Regions from separate parts of the Homo sapiens genome. Here all the other regions are linked to region 1. Evidence: promoter capture Hi-C in human tissues and cell types (Jung and others, 2019). All regions are on one chromosome and are shown on one strand. Each heading gives the region's core, a stretch centred on a gene start or on the middle of the fragment in contact. The rest is flanking DNA. Distances are from core to core; before and after follow the strand shown.

Region 1 (2,734 bases), core at 84-2,583:
CGGTGGCTCACGCCTGTAATCCCAGCACTTTGGGAGGCCGAGGCGGGCAGATCACTTGAGGCCAGGAGTTCAAGACCTGCCTGGCCAATATGGAGAAATCCCAGCTCTACGAAAAAATTCAAAAATTAGCTGGGTGTGGCAACAAGCACCTGTAACCCCAGCTACCGGGGAGGCTGAGGCTGAAGAATCGCTTGAACCCAGGAGGCAGAGGTAACAGCCGAGATCGTGCCACTGCACCCCAGCCTGGGCGACAGAGCAAGACTCCGTCTCAAAAACAAACAAACAAAAAAACCAACAACCGATGAGTGAACTTGGCCCAGAGCGGGGCAAGACTGGCCTGAGTGTCAGCCACGAAGGGGCTGAGCCAGCACTGGGGCCCCGGTCTGGGAATCAGTCCCTGTCCCCATTTTGGTTTCTCTGTACTGGAGCCGGCTCAAGGCAAATCCGACCAAGTGCCCCATCTCCAGAAGAAAAGGACCATGGGGAAGCTGAGATTCAGGCACTAGGAATCAGCTGTGAGTCCTGCCAGCTGACACCGAGTCTTTTTCCCTCCCACAGCCCACCTCCATTAGCAAATGTTGTCTCCTCTACTTCCAGAATCCCTCTGAAATCTACGCACTTTGCCCGCTGTGGTTGACTACAGCCTCCCTCCCATCGAGACTGCCATCATCTACTGTCTGGACAATTGTGCCGTCCTACTCTGATGCCGCTCCTGCCTACCCCGCTCCATCCCTTCTCCACCTCAAAGCCAGAAAGTATGCAGAGTTAAGTCAGTCCACGTCACTCCCCTACCCAAACTCCTCTCAAGACTCTCCATTTCCCTCCGACTAATAGCCAAGATCTAATGTGCTGAGCACACAGGGCTCGATATGATATGATCTGATCTCTCGTTACCTCCCCGCCGCCTCGCTCACCCGGCTCCGGGCTGTCCCTCCAACCGCCCGGTCCCCTGCCTGGAACGCCTCTCGCCTTCCTTCCGCTGCCAGGTTAATTCCAACCGGTGGTCAATTGTCCCCTTCTCTAGGAAGCCCTCCCCGAGTAAGTCGGGGGTTTCCCGGTTCCCCGGGATCTCCAACCCTCGGTCGGGCGCTCCTGAGGTAGGAGCCGGATCCCCAGCGCTGCTCCCGCAGCGACCCCACCTGCGCTCCCGGCTCCGCCGCCTCCGTCTGCGCCGTCCCTCGTCCTCCCGGCGCCGTCGGTTTCGCCGCCCATGGCTCCTGCTCCGACTTCGGCTCCCGCTCTGACTCTGCCGCCTTCGGCCCCGGCGACCCGCGGACCGCGAGCGCGAGCGTGTGTCCCGACCCATCGGCTGGGCCAGTGGCCGCGGCACCAACACCAATAGCCGAAGCCTGCGCTGGGGGCCTTCCTCGCCCACGGCGCTCTCCAGGCTGCCCCGTTTGCGCCTGAGCCGGGAAAGAGCAACCCATCCCGTCGCCCCAGCCCGCAAGGACTCCGACACCCCAGACTTTCCACTACGTCTGCAAATGTGGACCGCGTGATTGACTCCAGTGGGATTGTTGCCTCCAGGGTGGCGGAGTCTCCTTTCAGGCAGTGCTGGAGGCAGCCCTAGGCGGGTCCCCACGCCTCAGGGGGCCTGAGAAACTGTGGGCGGGGCAAGGGCAAACTAGGAACCTTGTGCAGGGAGGGGCCTGCCGAGGCGAGACCAATAAGAAGCGGGTCTAGGTCGGAAGTAGCGCTTCATTGGCGTGGCCAGGGGCGTGGCCGAGGAGAGGCGTGTCCGGGGAGCGAGGTCCCCGAAAGGCGAGGAACCGGGAAGGTGTTAGGTGCCAGGCAGCTCCAGAGGGCAGAGGGCGGGCGCGGGGACAGAAACTGAAAAGCCTTCTTATGAGAGTCATCGTTATGCTCCACCACCTGCCAATGAACACCTATGTATTTTGGGAGTTAAGCTTTAAAAAAAAACAAAAACTTTGATAACTCCCTGTATTCCCCCATCAACCCATTTTAGAGACGGGGAAACTGAGGCTCAGAGAGGGAAAGTCACTCTTAACACTTGCCTTCTCAACCCAGGCTGCCCAGCTTTGTGGTGTGGGTGCTGGGGACCCGTGGGAGGGTTGTGAGCAGGGTTTGGGGGACTTGCTGTTGAAACAAGTTTGGCGTGGGAGGACGGACTTCAGGGGCAAGGCTGGAGGCCAGAGACCTAGAAGACGCTGATGTCCCATCCTGAGCTCCCCTAGCCCATGGTGGCTGCTACCACCACCCCGTGCAGTTCTAACCACTCGGGGCTGGGAAGGCCTGTTTATGGAGGATGATAGTAATTTAAGCTAACTTTTAAAATATTTATCTTGGCCGGGCACGGTGGCTCACGCCTGTAACCCCAGCACTTTGAGAGGCCGAGGCGGGCGGATCACCTGAGGTCGGGAGTTCAAGACCAGCCTGGCCAATATGGTGAAACCCTATCTCTACTAAATAATACAAAAATTAGCCGGGTGTGGTGGCATGCACCTGTGATCCCAGCTACTTGGGAGGTTGAGGCAGGGAGAATTGCTTGAACCTGGGAGGCGGAGGTCGCAGTGAGCCGAGATCGTGCCACTGCGCTATGGCCTCGGCGATAGAGCAAGACTCCGTCTCAAAAAAAAAAAGAAAATTAAAATGTTTATCTTGAGTGGGGTGCAGTGGCTCATGCCTGTAATCCCAACACTTTGGGAGGCCGTGGCAGGTGGATCTTGAGGTCAGGAGTTCGAGACCAGCCTGTCCAACATGGCGAAACCCCGTC
Region 2 (2,734 bases), core at 113-2,612, 500 kb after region 1:
GACCGTTCACCCCATTTCACTACTCAGAGACCTACCACCATTCTGCTACTCAGTGACTCCATGCCCTGTCTTTTCCCACAGGGACCTCCCTTGGCCCTATCTCATTATTGAGGGACCCTTACCCCGTCTTTTCCTACCAGGGACCCTACCCCATCTCAGTCTCATTACTCAGGGACCCCTCACCCCATCCTCTCCCCTCTGGAGCCCCCTTGCCCAGATTTCCTCCTCAGGGGCTGCCTGACCTCCCCACACCCCATCCTCTCCTCTCAGGAATGCCCTGCACCCCGATTTCCCTACTCAGGGTCTCCCCTCACCCTCATCTCATGACTACGGCAACCTTTACTCCGTCCTTTCCTCTTAGGAACTCTTCACCCTCATTTCACTACTCAAGGACCCCACACTGTGTTCTCTCCTCTTAGAGATACCCCTCACCCCGATCTCACTGCTTGGGGAGCCTCATCCTGTTCTCTCCTTGGGGACACCCCTCATTCCGATTTTCCTACTGAGGGACTCCCCTCACCCCAGCTTCACTTTTCAGAAGCCCCACACCCCATCTTCTGCACTGCAGGGACCTCCCCTCACTCAACCTCGCTGCTCAGGGACCCCTGTCCCCATCCTCTCCTCTTAGAGACATCCTTCACCCCAACTTCACTACTCAGAGACTCCCGTTATCCCAATTCCACTCTTCAGGAACCCCACACCCCATCTTTTCCACCACAAGGACCTCCCCTCGCCCAATCTCACTGCTCAAAGACCCCCCTGCCCCGTGCACCCTTCGCCCCGTCCTCCGAGGGCCCCCTGCCCCGTCCTCCCCCGAGGGCCCCCTGCCCCGTCCTCCCCCGAGGGTCCCCTGCCCTGTCCTCCCCTCGAGAACCCCCTGCCCCGTGCACCACTCACCCCGTCCTCCCCCGTGACCCCCCTGCCTCGTGCACTCCTCGCGAACCCCCGTCCCCTCGCCCCGTCCTTCCCCGAGGGCTCCCTGCCCCGTGCACCCCAAGCCTCCGGCTGACCCCTGCCCACTCACTCGGAGGCGCCCTCGCTGGTAGGGGATGGGCCCTCGGCGATGGTAGGGTTGATGGTGAGCGCCGGCAGCACCGGCTTCCTCCGGGCCAGCATCGGGGCTCCGCGGGCCGGCGGCGGCGGCGCCTCTAGCCGGGGCCCATAGGGGGCGGGCCGGGAGCGGTCGGCGCCTACGCGAGCCCGGGGCTGCGGCCGCGGCCCAGGCCGGCGTCGGGGCGGCCGAGGGCGGGCGGCGCTGCGGGCCTGGGCCGAGGGTAGCCGAGGGGCGCTGGGGCTGAGGCGAGCGAGCCGCTACCGCTGCCGAGGCCCGAAGAAGGCTGACGCCGCAGCCCGAGTCCGAGAGGCAGGGGGAGGGGAGGGGCGGCCACAAGATCGCGGACCGGCTTCTCGCGATAACGGGATCGGGAGCCGCGATGGACCCCACCCCCAGCCGCCGCGCCTGCGCAGCAGCACAAGGCCGCCTTTCGGAGGGGAAAGGGGCGGAGACCGACGCGAGGCGGTGCCGGGACCGGGCGCCCTCGCTTGCCTTACCACGGCGCGTGTGCCCAAGCGCTTGGGGCATGAGGCGCGGGAGCAGGGGAGGAGACGGAGGGATGAAGGCTGGGGTGATGGTCGTGCACAGGTGGGCAGGGTAGCCAGACTCCTGAGAGCCTGTGGTGCCCCAGGCTGGGGCTGAGAGAACCCGTAAGACCCCAGAACAGTGGACGAGACCCACCCAGAGTCCATTTAATCTTTTTGGCAAGCGTGGACACACGCCCCTAGCCCCCACCGCCTTAGAGTGTCAGTTACTCCCCCTCCTTCATCAGAACAAGGCCACTCTAAAACATTTTTAAAATTTATTTTAATTGACAAATAAAATTGCATATATTACTATGCGCATGTTGAAACATTTTTATTATAAAATACACATAACATAAAACTTGTCATTTTAACCATTTCTAAATGCACAGCTCAGCGGCATTAAGCAACCACCACCACCACCATCTCCAGAATTTTCTCATCTTCCGAAACTGAAACACTGTCCCCTATGAAACCTCACTCCCTATCCCCCTCCCCAGCCCCTGGAACCCAACGTCGTACTTCCTGTGAATCTGATGATTCTAGGGACTTCATATGAGTAGGATCACACAGGTTTTGTCCCTTTGTGGCTGGCATATTTCACTGAGGGCCACGTCCTCAAGGTGCCTGTTGTAGCTGTGTTAGATCCACGTTGTAACCTGTGTTAGAATTTACCCACTTGACTACTCCGGGCATACTTCCAATCGGGTAGCCCTGCTCCAAAAAAGAGCAGAAAAAAAAAAAAAAAGAAAAATTTCCCTTTTTTTTTTTTTGAGACGGAGTCTCGCTCTGTCACCCAGGCTGGAGTGCAGTGGTGCGATCTCGGCCCACTGCAAACTCTGCCTCCCGGGTTCACGCCATTCTCCTGCCTCAGCCTCCCGAGTAGCTGGGACTACAGGTGCCCACCACCATGCCCGGCTAATTTTTTTGTATTTTTAGTAGAGACGGGGTTTCACCGTGTTAGCCAGGATGGTCTCCATCTCCTGACCTCGTGATCCACCCGCCTCGATCTCCCAAAGTGCTGGGATTACAGGCGTGAGCCACCGCACCCAGTCAGGATTTTCCTCCTTTTTAAGGCTGAATAATATTCTATTGTGTGCATGGACTATATTTTGCTTATCCATTTATCTGCCACTAGACACTTCGGTGAATCGTG
Region 3 (2,734 bases), core at 64-2,563, 440 kb after region 1:
GGGAGGGCGATGCAAATTACCCCGGATCTGGGTCCGCCCGCCCGCCTCCCCCACGCCCGGGCCCGGCCTGCGCTAGGCCGCGCATCCCCGGGCTCGCCTGCACCGCGCGGCCGCCCGGGCCGCCGCCCTCCCCGGGGAGCGCGGGGAGGGTGACCCCCCCCCCACGGGCGGGGGGCCGAGGGGAGGGGGGCTGGGGACGGTTACACAACCAGGCGGGGAGGGGCCCCGGGGCGGGGAGGGGGCCGGCCCGCGGGCCGCGCAGCCGGAAGCCGGGACCGCCACCGGCCCCCGGCGAGGGGAGCCCGGCTCCAGGCCCCGCCCCCTGGCGGGCTGGCCCCGCCCCCGCGCCGCGCCGCGCGATCGGCCCGCGCCCATTGGCTCTCCGGCCCGCCGCTCACCGCCCCTCCTCCGCACCGCCCCTACCCGCAGGCCGCGGCGGGCTGTCGGCGCGGGGCACCCTGGGACTTGTAGTCCAAGCCGCTTGCCACCTGCCGGCTGCAAACGGCGGAGGGACTACGAAGCCCAGAGGTCCCTGCGGCCCTGCCCGCCCACCCGGACACCCCACCCCTTCCCCCTCCTTTCCGAAGCCCCCCTCCCTGTTTTTTCAGCCCCCTCCCCCCCATCCCCCATGGAGCTCAATCCTGGCCAACTCCAACGTATGCACGCAGCACCGAATAGGCCCCCGGGGGGCGAGAGCGCCCCTCGTCTTCAGCTGGAAACTTAGCAGGCGACGCGCCCCCCTATCTCCCCACGCCGGCTCCCCCCACCCTCAATGCAGCCCTGCTTCCCCTCCCCCGCTCCCCGCGCGCCTGGGAGCCCCGAAAAGCCATGCACCCGGGTTGGGGGGGGCTGGCGCACAAGCTCATGCACTTAGCCCCCAATCCCCCCTTCCCGGGCGGCGCCCCCTCCCCGCGCTCGGGATCCAGGGCGCCTCCAGCCTCCGGGCAGCTGCCAACCACCCCTTCCTCTGAAACTTGGGGGAACGTCCCCGGCTCCCCGGATCTCCCCTTCCCGAGGGGGCAGCGGTGGCCGCAGCGACCCCCGCCCGTCCCCGCCCTGCACCCCGTGCCGGGGGCCGCGCCGGGCGCTGACTTACCTCGCGGGGCCGGGCCGGGGCGCGCGGGGCCGGGGCCCGAAGTTGGGACTGGGCTCCCTCGGCCGCTCGCCTCCGGGGTCCGCGGCGCTCGCTCTGCCCGCGTCGCGCTGCCCTGGTCGCTCCCTCGCGCGGCGGCGGCGGCGTCACTGCCCCTACAGTAACTGTACAGTACAGCCAAAGCCCCGTATGATGCTCGCGACTCCCTTCCTGGTTTCTCCGAGGGCAAGAGGGGTCCTCCCTTGTCTTAAAGGTGCCGCAGCCGCCGGCCCCCCCACGCCCAGCCCGCCCCCCCCAGCCTGGCCTCGGAGGCCAGAACAGGCTCGGCAGGTCCCCTCTTGCCACGTCTCTGCCCTCCCGTGGGGCTTCGCCCGCTGCGCCGGGGAGACCGGGCTGTTATTAGGTTTTGTCAAGTCGGGGGGGGGGGTCCGGCCCGCCCCGGCGCGCCCCCCCGCCTCTGACCTCTCCGCCCCGCCGCGCGGCGCCGTGCCAGCTTGCCAGCTTATCTGGCCCCAGAGCTCCCCGGGGCGCGGGGGGAGCGGGCCCCCCGGGGTGGAGGGGGGGTGGGGGCCTCCAGATAAACAGGCCCCCAGCCTCTGCGCAGGGGCGGGGTGCGGGGGGGCGCGGGCTGTGCCCCCGACGCCCGGGGCGTGGCAGGATGGCAGCGGGGGCGGGGAGCGCGGTGCGCACAGCGAGGAGCGACGCGGGCGTGTGGGTCGCGCGGCCTGGGCTGCCGGGGGTGGGTTGGGGGTGAGGCGGTGGGGATCCCCCCGCAAGGCCAGGCCCTGGGCCTCCCCGGGCCTCAGTGGGACTTGCCGCGCCAGGGACCCCGGGGGGTGGCCTTGCCAAGGACAGCCCGGGTCCGCGGGGCTCCCGGGTCCCTAAATGAAACCACCAACCTGCCCTCCCGCGATTATATAAAGGAGTCGCCTCCACCCCGCTGCGCTAGGGGCGTCAGCGGGGGAAGGGGTTGGCGAGGGGCGGGGAGGGCGGTTGTTTTCCCGGCTTCGCGAGTTCCCCCACCCGGCTGCGGGCCGCGGGGCGGGACGGGGACCGGGCCCTGGACGCCTGGTCCGCGCGGGCCGCTCCTTGGCACAAGGGGGTCTGCATGGCTCGCGAGGGGCGGAGGTGGGGAGTGGGGAGGCGTTGGTTCAGCGCGACTTTTTTTTTTCCCCTGTCCGTTTCTCCCACTTCCTCCCCGGTCGTGGGAGAGGTCCGGCGGGGGACAGGGAAGGGGGAGCAGGGCACGAGTGGTGAGAACGTCCTGGCCCGGCCCGGGGAGGGCTGGCTGGTGCGACCGCGCGCCTGGGGGGGGGGGGGAGGGCTCCAGGACTCAGTTTCCCCTTCCTCATTCCTCCAGACAGAGAGAGTACTGACAGCTGCTTTAGCTGCCGTTTAGTGAGCGCTTATCCAGTGGGTGACCCTGTTCCGGGGCTCACTGTGCCTTCATTCTAACACCTAATCCCAGGGTCATTATTATGTTTTATTATTATCTGGCATTCTTAGTACCAACACCACCTGACAGCGGGAACCACCACCGGCCTGGGTGTAGTGTACCCAGCCTGTCCTCTGACTTCAAAGCCTCTCCTGCGAGAGACACAGTTTATGGCTTCTTCGCACAATTTATTAAAAGCGCCTTTC
Region 4 (2,734 bases), core at 81-2,580, 370 kb after region 1:
GTTTTATTTATTTATTTACTTATTTATTTTATTTTTTTGAGATGGAGTCTCGCGTGTTGCCCAGGCTGGAGTGCAGCAGCATGATCTCAGCTCACTGCAACCTCTGCCTCTCGGGTTAAAGCGATTCTCCTGTCTCAGCCTCCTGAGTAGCTGGAATTACAGGTGTGTGCCACTATGCCCGGCTAATTTTTGTATTTTTAGTGGAGACAGGGGTTTCACCATGTTGCGTGGGCTGGTCTCAAACTTCTGACCTCAGGTGATCCTCCTGCCTCGGCCTCCCAAAATGCTGGGATTACAGGAGTGAGCCACTGTGCCTGGCCTACAATCTGTTTTAGAGCCAGAAAATGCAATCAATTGTGATAATACATTGCTATGTTTTGAAATACATATATACAAACGTGCACACAACTTTATTTAAATTTAAGATGCTTTTAATATTCAGCTAACACCAAATTCACAATTTGATACTTTTTTTTTTTGGTAAAGATGGAGTCTCCTTCTGTCACCGAGGCTGGAGTGCAGTGTCCTCATCTCGGCTCACTGCAACCTCTGTCTCCCAGGTTCAAGAGATTCTCCTGCCTCAGCATCCTGAGTAGCTGGGATTACAGGTGCGTGCCACCACGCCCCAGTAATTTTTTTTGTATTTCTAGTAGAGACAGGGTTTCACCATGTTGGCCAGGCTGGTCTCAAACTCCTGACCTCATGATCCACCCGCCTCGGCCTCCTAAAGTGCTGGGATTACAAGCTTGAGCTACCGCGCCCAGCTCATAGGTATTTTTGCCCAGGAAACAACTCCATTTACTTAAGTGCAAAACGGGAGTAACTATCTGTATCTATATCTACCTCTCTCCATCTATCTCTATGTATCTTACATAACAGTGGAGGTGGTTTGTGAATTTTGTCAGAATTGCAAAGGATCTGATTTAGAACTGATGAATTCTGTCCTAAAACAGGCTGTAAAGCTTTAAATTGGTCGTGTGGGGATTTTCCATAGCCTCCCTCTCCTCTTTCTTGTCTGTCTACCTCCCATCAGTGTCTGAACATGTTCTGTATTTAGCCTTTTTTTTTTTTTTTGAGATGGAGTCTCCCTCTGTTGCCCAGGCTGGAGTACAGTGGTGCCATCTCGGCTCACTGCAAGCTCCACCTTCCGGGTTCAAGTGACTCTCCTGCCTCAGCCTCCCAAGTAGCTGGGACTACAGGCGTGTGCCACCACGCCCAGCTAAATTTTTATTTTTGGTAGAGATGGGTTTTCACCATCTTGGCCAGGCTGGTCTCGAACTCTGGGCCTCAGGTGATCCGCCCATGTCAGCCTCCCAAAGTGCTGGGATTACAGGCGTGACCCACCACGCCGGGACCTTTAATTAGCTTTTGATTTTGTTTGTTGTTGATCTCCCTCCTGGAATGCCAGTTCCACGAGGACAGGGAATTTTGCCTGTTGTGGTCACCACTGTGTCTGAGCATCTCTAACAAAGACTAGCAAGCTACAGCCCTCAGCCCTAATCTTTTTTTTTTTTTTTTTTTGAGTCTCGCTCTGTAACCAGGCTGGAGTTCAGTGGCACAATCTCGGCTCACTGCAAGCTCCGCCTCCCGGGTTCACGCCGTTTTCCTGCCTCAGCCTCCCGAGTAGCTGGGACTACAGGCGCCCGCCACCATGCCCGGCTAATTTTTTGTATTTTTAGTAGAGACGGGGTTTCACCGTGTTAGCCAGGATGGTCTCGATCTCCTGATCTCGTGATCTGCCCGCCTCGGCCTCCCAAAGTGCTGGGATTACAGGCATGAGCCACTGCGCCCAGCGTATTATTATTATTATTATTATTATTATTACTTTTGAGACAGAGTCTCTCTCTGTCACCCAGGCTGGAGTGCAGTGACACAATCACGGTTCACTGCTGCCTGGAACTCCTGGGCTCAAGCCATCCACCTGAGTAGGTAAGACTGTAGGCGTGCACCACCATGCCTACTTAATTTTTTATTTTTTGCAGAGAGAGGATCTCATTATGTTGCTCAGTCTGGTGTAGAAATCCTGTGTTCAAGCAGTCCTCCTGCCTGGATCTCCAAAAGTTCTGGGATTACACACCCGACCCACAGCACCCGGCCTTCTTTCTCTTTTAAATGTTCAAACAAAAGCATAATAATAACATGACATGTGAAAATACGTAAGATTGAAATTTCTGTGTTTATGAAGTTCTACTAGCATACAGGCCTGGCTCAGTGGTTCACACCCGTAATCCCAGCATTTTGGGAGGTCCAGGAGGGCAGATCACTCGAGGTCAGGAGTTCAAGACCAGCCTGGCCGGGGGCAGCCCCCGCCCGGCCAGCTGCCCCGTCCGGAAGGGAGGTGGGGGGCAGCCCCCGCCCGGCCAGCCGCCCCGTCCGAGAGGTGGGGGGCGTCTCTGCCCGGCCGCCCCGTCTGGGAAGTGAGGAGCCCCTCTGCCCGGCCGCCACCCCGTCTGGGAGGTGTACCCAGCAGCTCATTGAGAGCAGACCATGATGACGATGGCGGTTTTGTCGAATAGAAAAAGGGGGAAATGTGGGGAAAAGAAAGAGAGGTCAGATTGTTACGCTGTCTGTGTGGAAAGAAGTGGACATAGGAGACTCCATTTTGTTCTGTACTGAGAAAAATTCTTCTGCCTTGGGATGCTGTTAATCTATAACCTTACCCCCAACCCCGTGCTGAAACATGTGCTGTGTCCACTCAGGGTTAAATGGATTAAGGGCGGTGCAAGATGTGCTT
Region 5 (2,734 bases), core at 127-2,626, 260 kb before region 1:
CCTGGGCCTGGGGCACCTGCCCCAGCTTGGTGAGAGGGTATCATTTGTCCTTGGGAAGCTCAGAGAGATGAGGTGAAATGGCCAAGCTTTCTAAGAATGTGTCTTTAGTGAACATTTGACCCAAGGTCAAGGCTCTGCTAAGGTCATTGTCCTTATCCCCAGCAATCCCACAGGATGGGCATCTTTAAGCCACTTTATAGGGGAGAACCCTTGGGATGGGAATGAGAGACACAGCAGCCTCTGAGCTAGCCTGGGAGGATCCAGGGAGTGAACCGGGGGAGGGTTGGGGCCCTGTCATCAGATGCCCTGGGGGCTCAGACGGAGGCAGGCCAGGTCTCTGCCCTGTTACGTCTAGAAGGAGAACAGAATGTGGGCTCCAGGTCCAGATGGCCTGGCTCCAAGCCACACTTGCCATACCTCAGTCTTGAGATCTGTGAAAAGGGCACACCCCTGAGGCAGGTGGAAATTATTGGATACCCAGGGGGAGGCTGCAAGGGTTTATCTGGCCAGCTGGAGATCCCGCCTGGACACCGTCCTCCTGGGGTGCTGGAGAGACACACAGGCGAGGCCACCCCTCCCCTGCCCCTTGGGTGCTGGGTGAAGAGAGCAAATTCTGGAGCCTCCCGTGTTAGCCTGGGCCCTTCTGGCCAAGGAAGGGACAGCTGCACACAAGCCCCTCTAGCTGGGGACCCGCAGCCCCTGCCTGGCTCTGGGGGGAGAAGGGAGCCAGGGTGCTGTGGGACCAGCTCACCGTGCACCCAGGGTCGTACATCTTTAAGGGGAAAGAGGCGCGCTGGCCGGCCTCTGCGCACGTCACTTCTTCATTCCTTCCCTCCCCCCTGGCTCTTTCCTCCAACTTCCCGGCCAGCTCGGGGGTGATGGGGGGGTGGGGAGGGGGGGCCTTAAAAATCCACCCCTGGCCCCTCAATGTCCAGAAACAACCCTGTCCCCCCTCTCCGCTTGATCCGAATTGGGGTCGCCCTGCAGTCCTGGGGTCCTGGTCTAGTGCCCTGGGGCATTGCGTAAATACGGGAGGAGCGGGGGGGTCCTGAGACGTCGGGGGAGGCTCTCCTTTCTCGCTCGCGCCCTTTTTTCCCTCGTTTCTTTGAAAGTTGGGTGTTGAGAAGTGGGAGGTTCGGGGTGGGAGGGGGAGGGTGTCAGAGGGTAGAGAGAGAGACAGAGAGACAGAGACGGGGGAGAGAGGAAGAGAGAGACGGAGGGAGAGAGGGACAGAGAGCGAGGCGGGCGGCGCGAGAGAGGGAGAGCAGGAGGGAGGAGGAGGGAGACCGAGGGAGGAGGCGGCGAGGAGAGCGCGCCGGCCGCGGGGCGGGGGGGGGGGTTGGGGGGGGCGGGGGGGTGGTTTGGAAAAATGACTCAGTAAGTTCAGCGCGCCCGCTCCGGCCGGCCCTGCGCCTCCCGCCGCGCCCGGGATGTATTCGTCCCCGCTCTGCCTCACCCAGGTACGGTCCTCGCCCGGCCCCCCGCCGGCGCCCCCGCGCCCCCCGCATCCCAGCCCCGGAGTTTTGAAGCAGGAGGAGGCGGGACGAAAAAGGCGCGCGTCCCTCCCGCCATCCCTGCCCGGGATGCCCCCCGCGCCGAGGGCTGGGGTCCGGTGGGGGGATGGGTCAGGCTGGGGTACCCCCCCCACACCCTTACCTACCGCGGACCCCCTACGCGGGACTCCCGCCCAGCACCCCCAACCCCGACTCTCGGGACCTCTCCCGGATGTGGGGCTTGGTCTGCAGATTTGCGTCCCCCCCCCACACACCGACGCACTCCGCACCCCCGCCCCGACACTCGGAAAGGTCGGGGTGGGGGCTGGCCCCCCTCCAGCAAGGGCTCTGCGGGAAGCCCCCCGCCTGCCTCTGAGAGGAATCTAGGGGGTCGTGATTGGACCCTGGGTCTCCCCAGCTGGAGAGAAAGGGACCTCTCATGTGTTTTCCCCGTGTCCCCCCACCAAGGTTGTGCGGGCCGCCCTGGCCCTCGGTCGCCTTTCCCTCGTTATTGGCCCACGTGTGCATGGAGGGGGAGGGGGCAGGAGAAGTTGGAGGCCCAGGAGGGGGAAGGGTGCTCCGGCGGCCCGGCTGGGTCCCCCCTCCTTTGCAAGCCCCCCAGCACCGTCCCGGTATTTTCGCTGCATCGATTCTGGATTCTGGATTCTGGATTCTGGAGCCGCCGCCGGGAGGAGCGGGAGGCCCGGCGCTCCGGGTCTGGCCCGGGCACTGCGGCGCTGCGGACGCCCTCGCCAGCCCGGCACCTGCCCCGTCCCCTCCCCCTCCCCCTCCCCCTCCCGTAGCCTCTCACCCCTGGCCGCACTCCCAGACTGCCCCGGGGCCGAGCCTTGTGCAATGGCCGAGGGGGTGTGTGGGGAGGGGGCGGCTCCCCCCGGGGACTCCTTCCAGCCCAGGCTCCCGGGGACCCCGAGGTCTGCAAGTTCCGTTTTCTAGACCGCTGCTTTCCTCCTTACGCAGTGTGTCTTTAGGCTGGAGAGGTTCTGGCCTCAGTTTCCCCTGAAGTGAGGTGCGGCTAAGGCCGGTTCTGGAGAGGGGACAGTATGGCGGGCAAACTGTAAAGTCCCGGCACGTGGGGGGTGCGATTCCAGCGAGGGCCAGGCCCGTCTTAAGAAGCACTGTGTGGGGAGTATATGAGTCCCCGGCTTCCGCTCCAGGGCATGGTGCAGTGAGGGACCCCCCACGCCAGGCATGCTCCTTGGTAGGGTCTTTCTCACCGGCCC

What was found. The method cuts DNA at HindIII sites, captures the fragments that hold promoters and counts their contacts. A contact is called where the count stands out against the background at its distance.
Region 2: the fragment with the promoter of MAP2K2 here is called in contact with the fragment with the promoter of CACTIN in region 1 in 1 of the 25 tissues and cell types used here (lymphoblastoid cells).
Region 3: a contact is called between the fragment with the promoter of ZBTB7A here and the fragment with the promoter of CACTIN in region 1, in 1 of the 25 tissues and cell types used here (dorsolateral prefrontal cortex).
Region 4: a fragment that was not itself captured here is called in contact with the fragment with the promoter of CACTIN in region 1 in 2 of the 25 tissues and cell types used here (heart right ventricle and stomach).
Region 5: the fragment with the promoter of NFIC here is called in contact with the fragment with the promoter of CACTIN in region 1 in 3 of the 25 tissues and cell types used here (dorsolateral prefrontal cortex, liver and lymphoblastoid cells).

The regions. Positions count from the first base shown.
Region 1 is chr19:3,625,457-3,628,190 of GRCh38, forward strand. It overlaps CACTIN (cactin, spliceosome C complex subunit), which reads right to left and starts at 1,334. Exons shown (of 10, transcript NM_001080543.2): 1 at 1,140-1,334. The coding sequence starts at 1,306. RefSeq lists enhancers at 1-284, 285-846, 847-1,408, 1,298-1,667. The HindIII fragment of the contact is 17,013 bases long and covers 1-2,734 here.
Region 2 is chr19:4,122,760-4,125,493 of GRCh38, forward strand. MAP2K2 (mitogen-activated protein kinase kinase 2) reads right to left here and starts at 1,363. Exons shown (of 11, transcript NM_030662.4): 1 at 1,025-1,363. The coding sequence starts at 1,116. RefSeq lists silencers at 956-1,205, 1,396-1,515. The HindIII fragment of the contact is 9,633 bases long and covers 1-2,734 here.
Region 3 is chr19:4,065,586-4,068,319 of GRCh38, forward strand. ZBTB7A (zinc finger and BTB domain containing 7A) reads right to left here and starts at 1,314. Exons shown (of 3, transcript NM_015898.4): 1 at 1,097-1,314. RefSeq lists silencers at 1-614, 1,095-1,294, 1,305-1,354, 1,395-1,454, 1,665-1,774 and 1 more. The HindIII fragment of the contact is 23,363 bases long and covers 1-2,734 here.
Region 4 is chr19:3,996,490-3,999,223 of GRCh38, forward strand. No RefSeq gene overlaps it. Among named protein-coding and RNA genes, the nearest start is that of PIAS4, 9.9 kb to the right of the region's middle. RefSeq lists an enhancer at 2,350-2,734. The HindIII fragment of the contact is 5,265 bases long and covers 1-2,734 here.
Region 5 is chr19:3,365,207-3,367,940 of GRCh38, forward strand. It overlaps NFIC (nuclear factor I C), which reads left to right and starts at 1,377. Exons shown (of 11, transcript NM_001245002.2): 1 at 1,377-1,460. The coding sequence starts at 1,431. RefSeq lists silencers at 1,006-1,095, 1,546-1,695, 1,986-2,385. The HindIII fragment of the contact is 27,364 bases long and covers 1-2,734 here.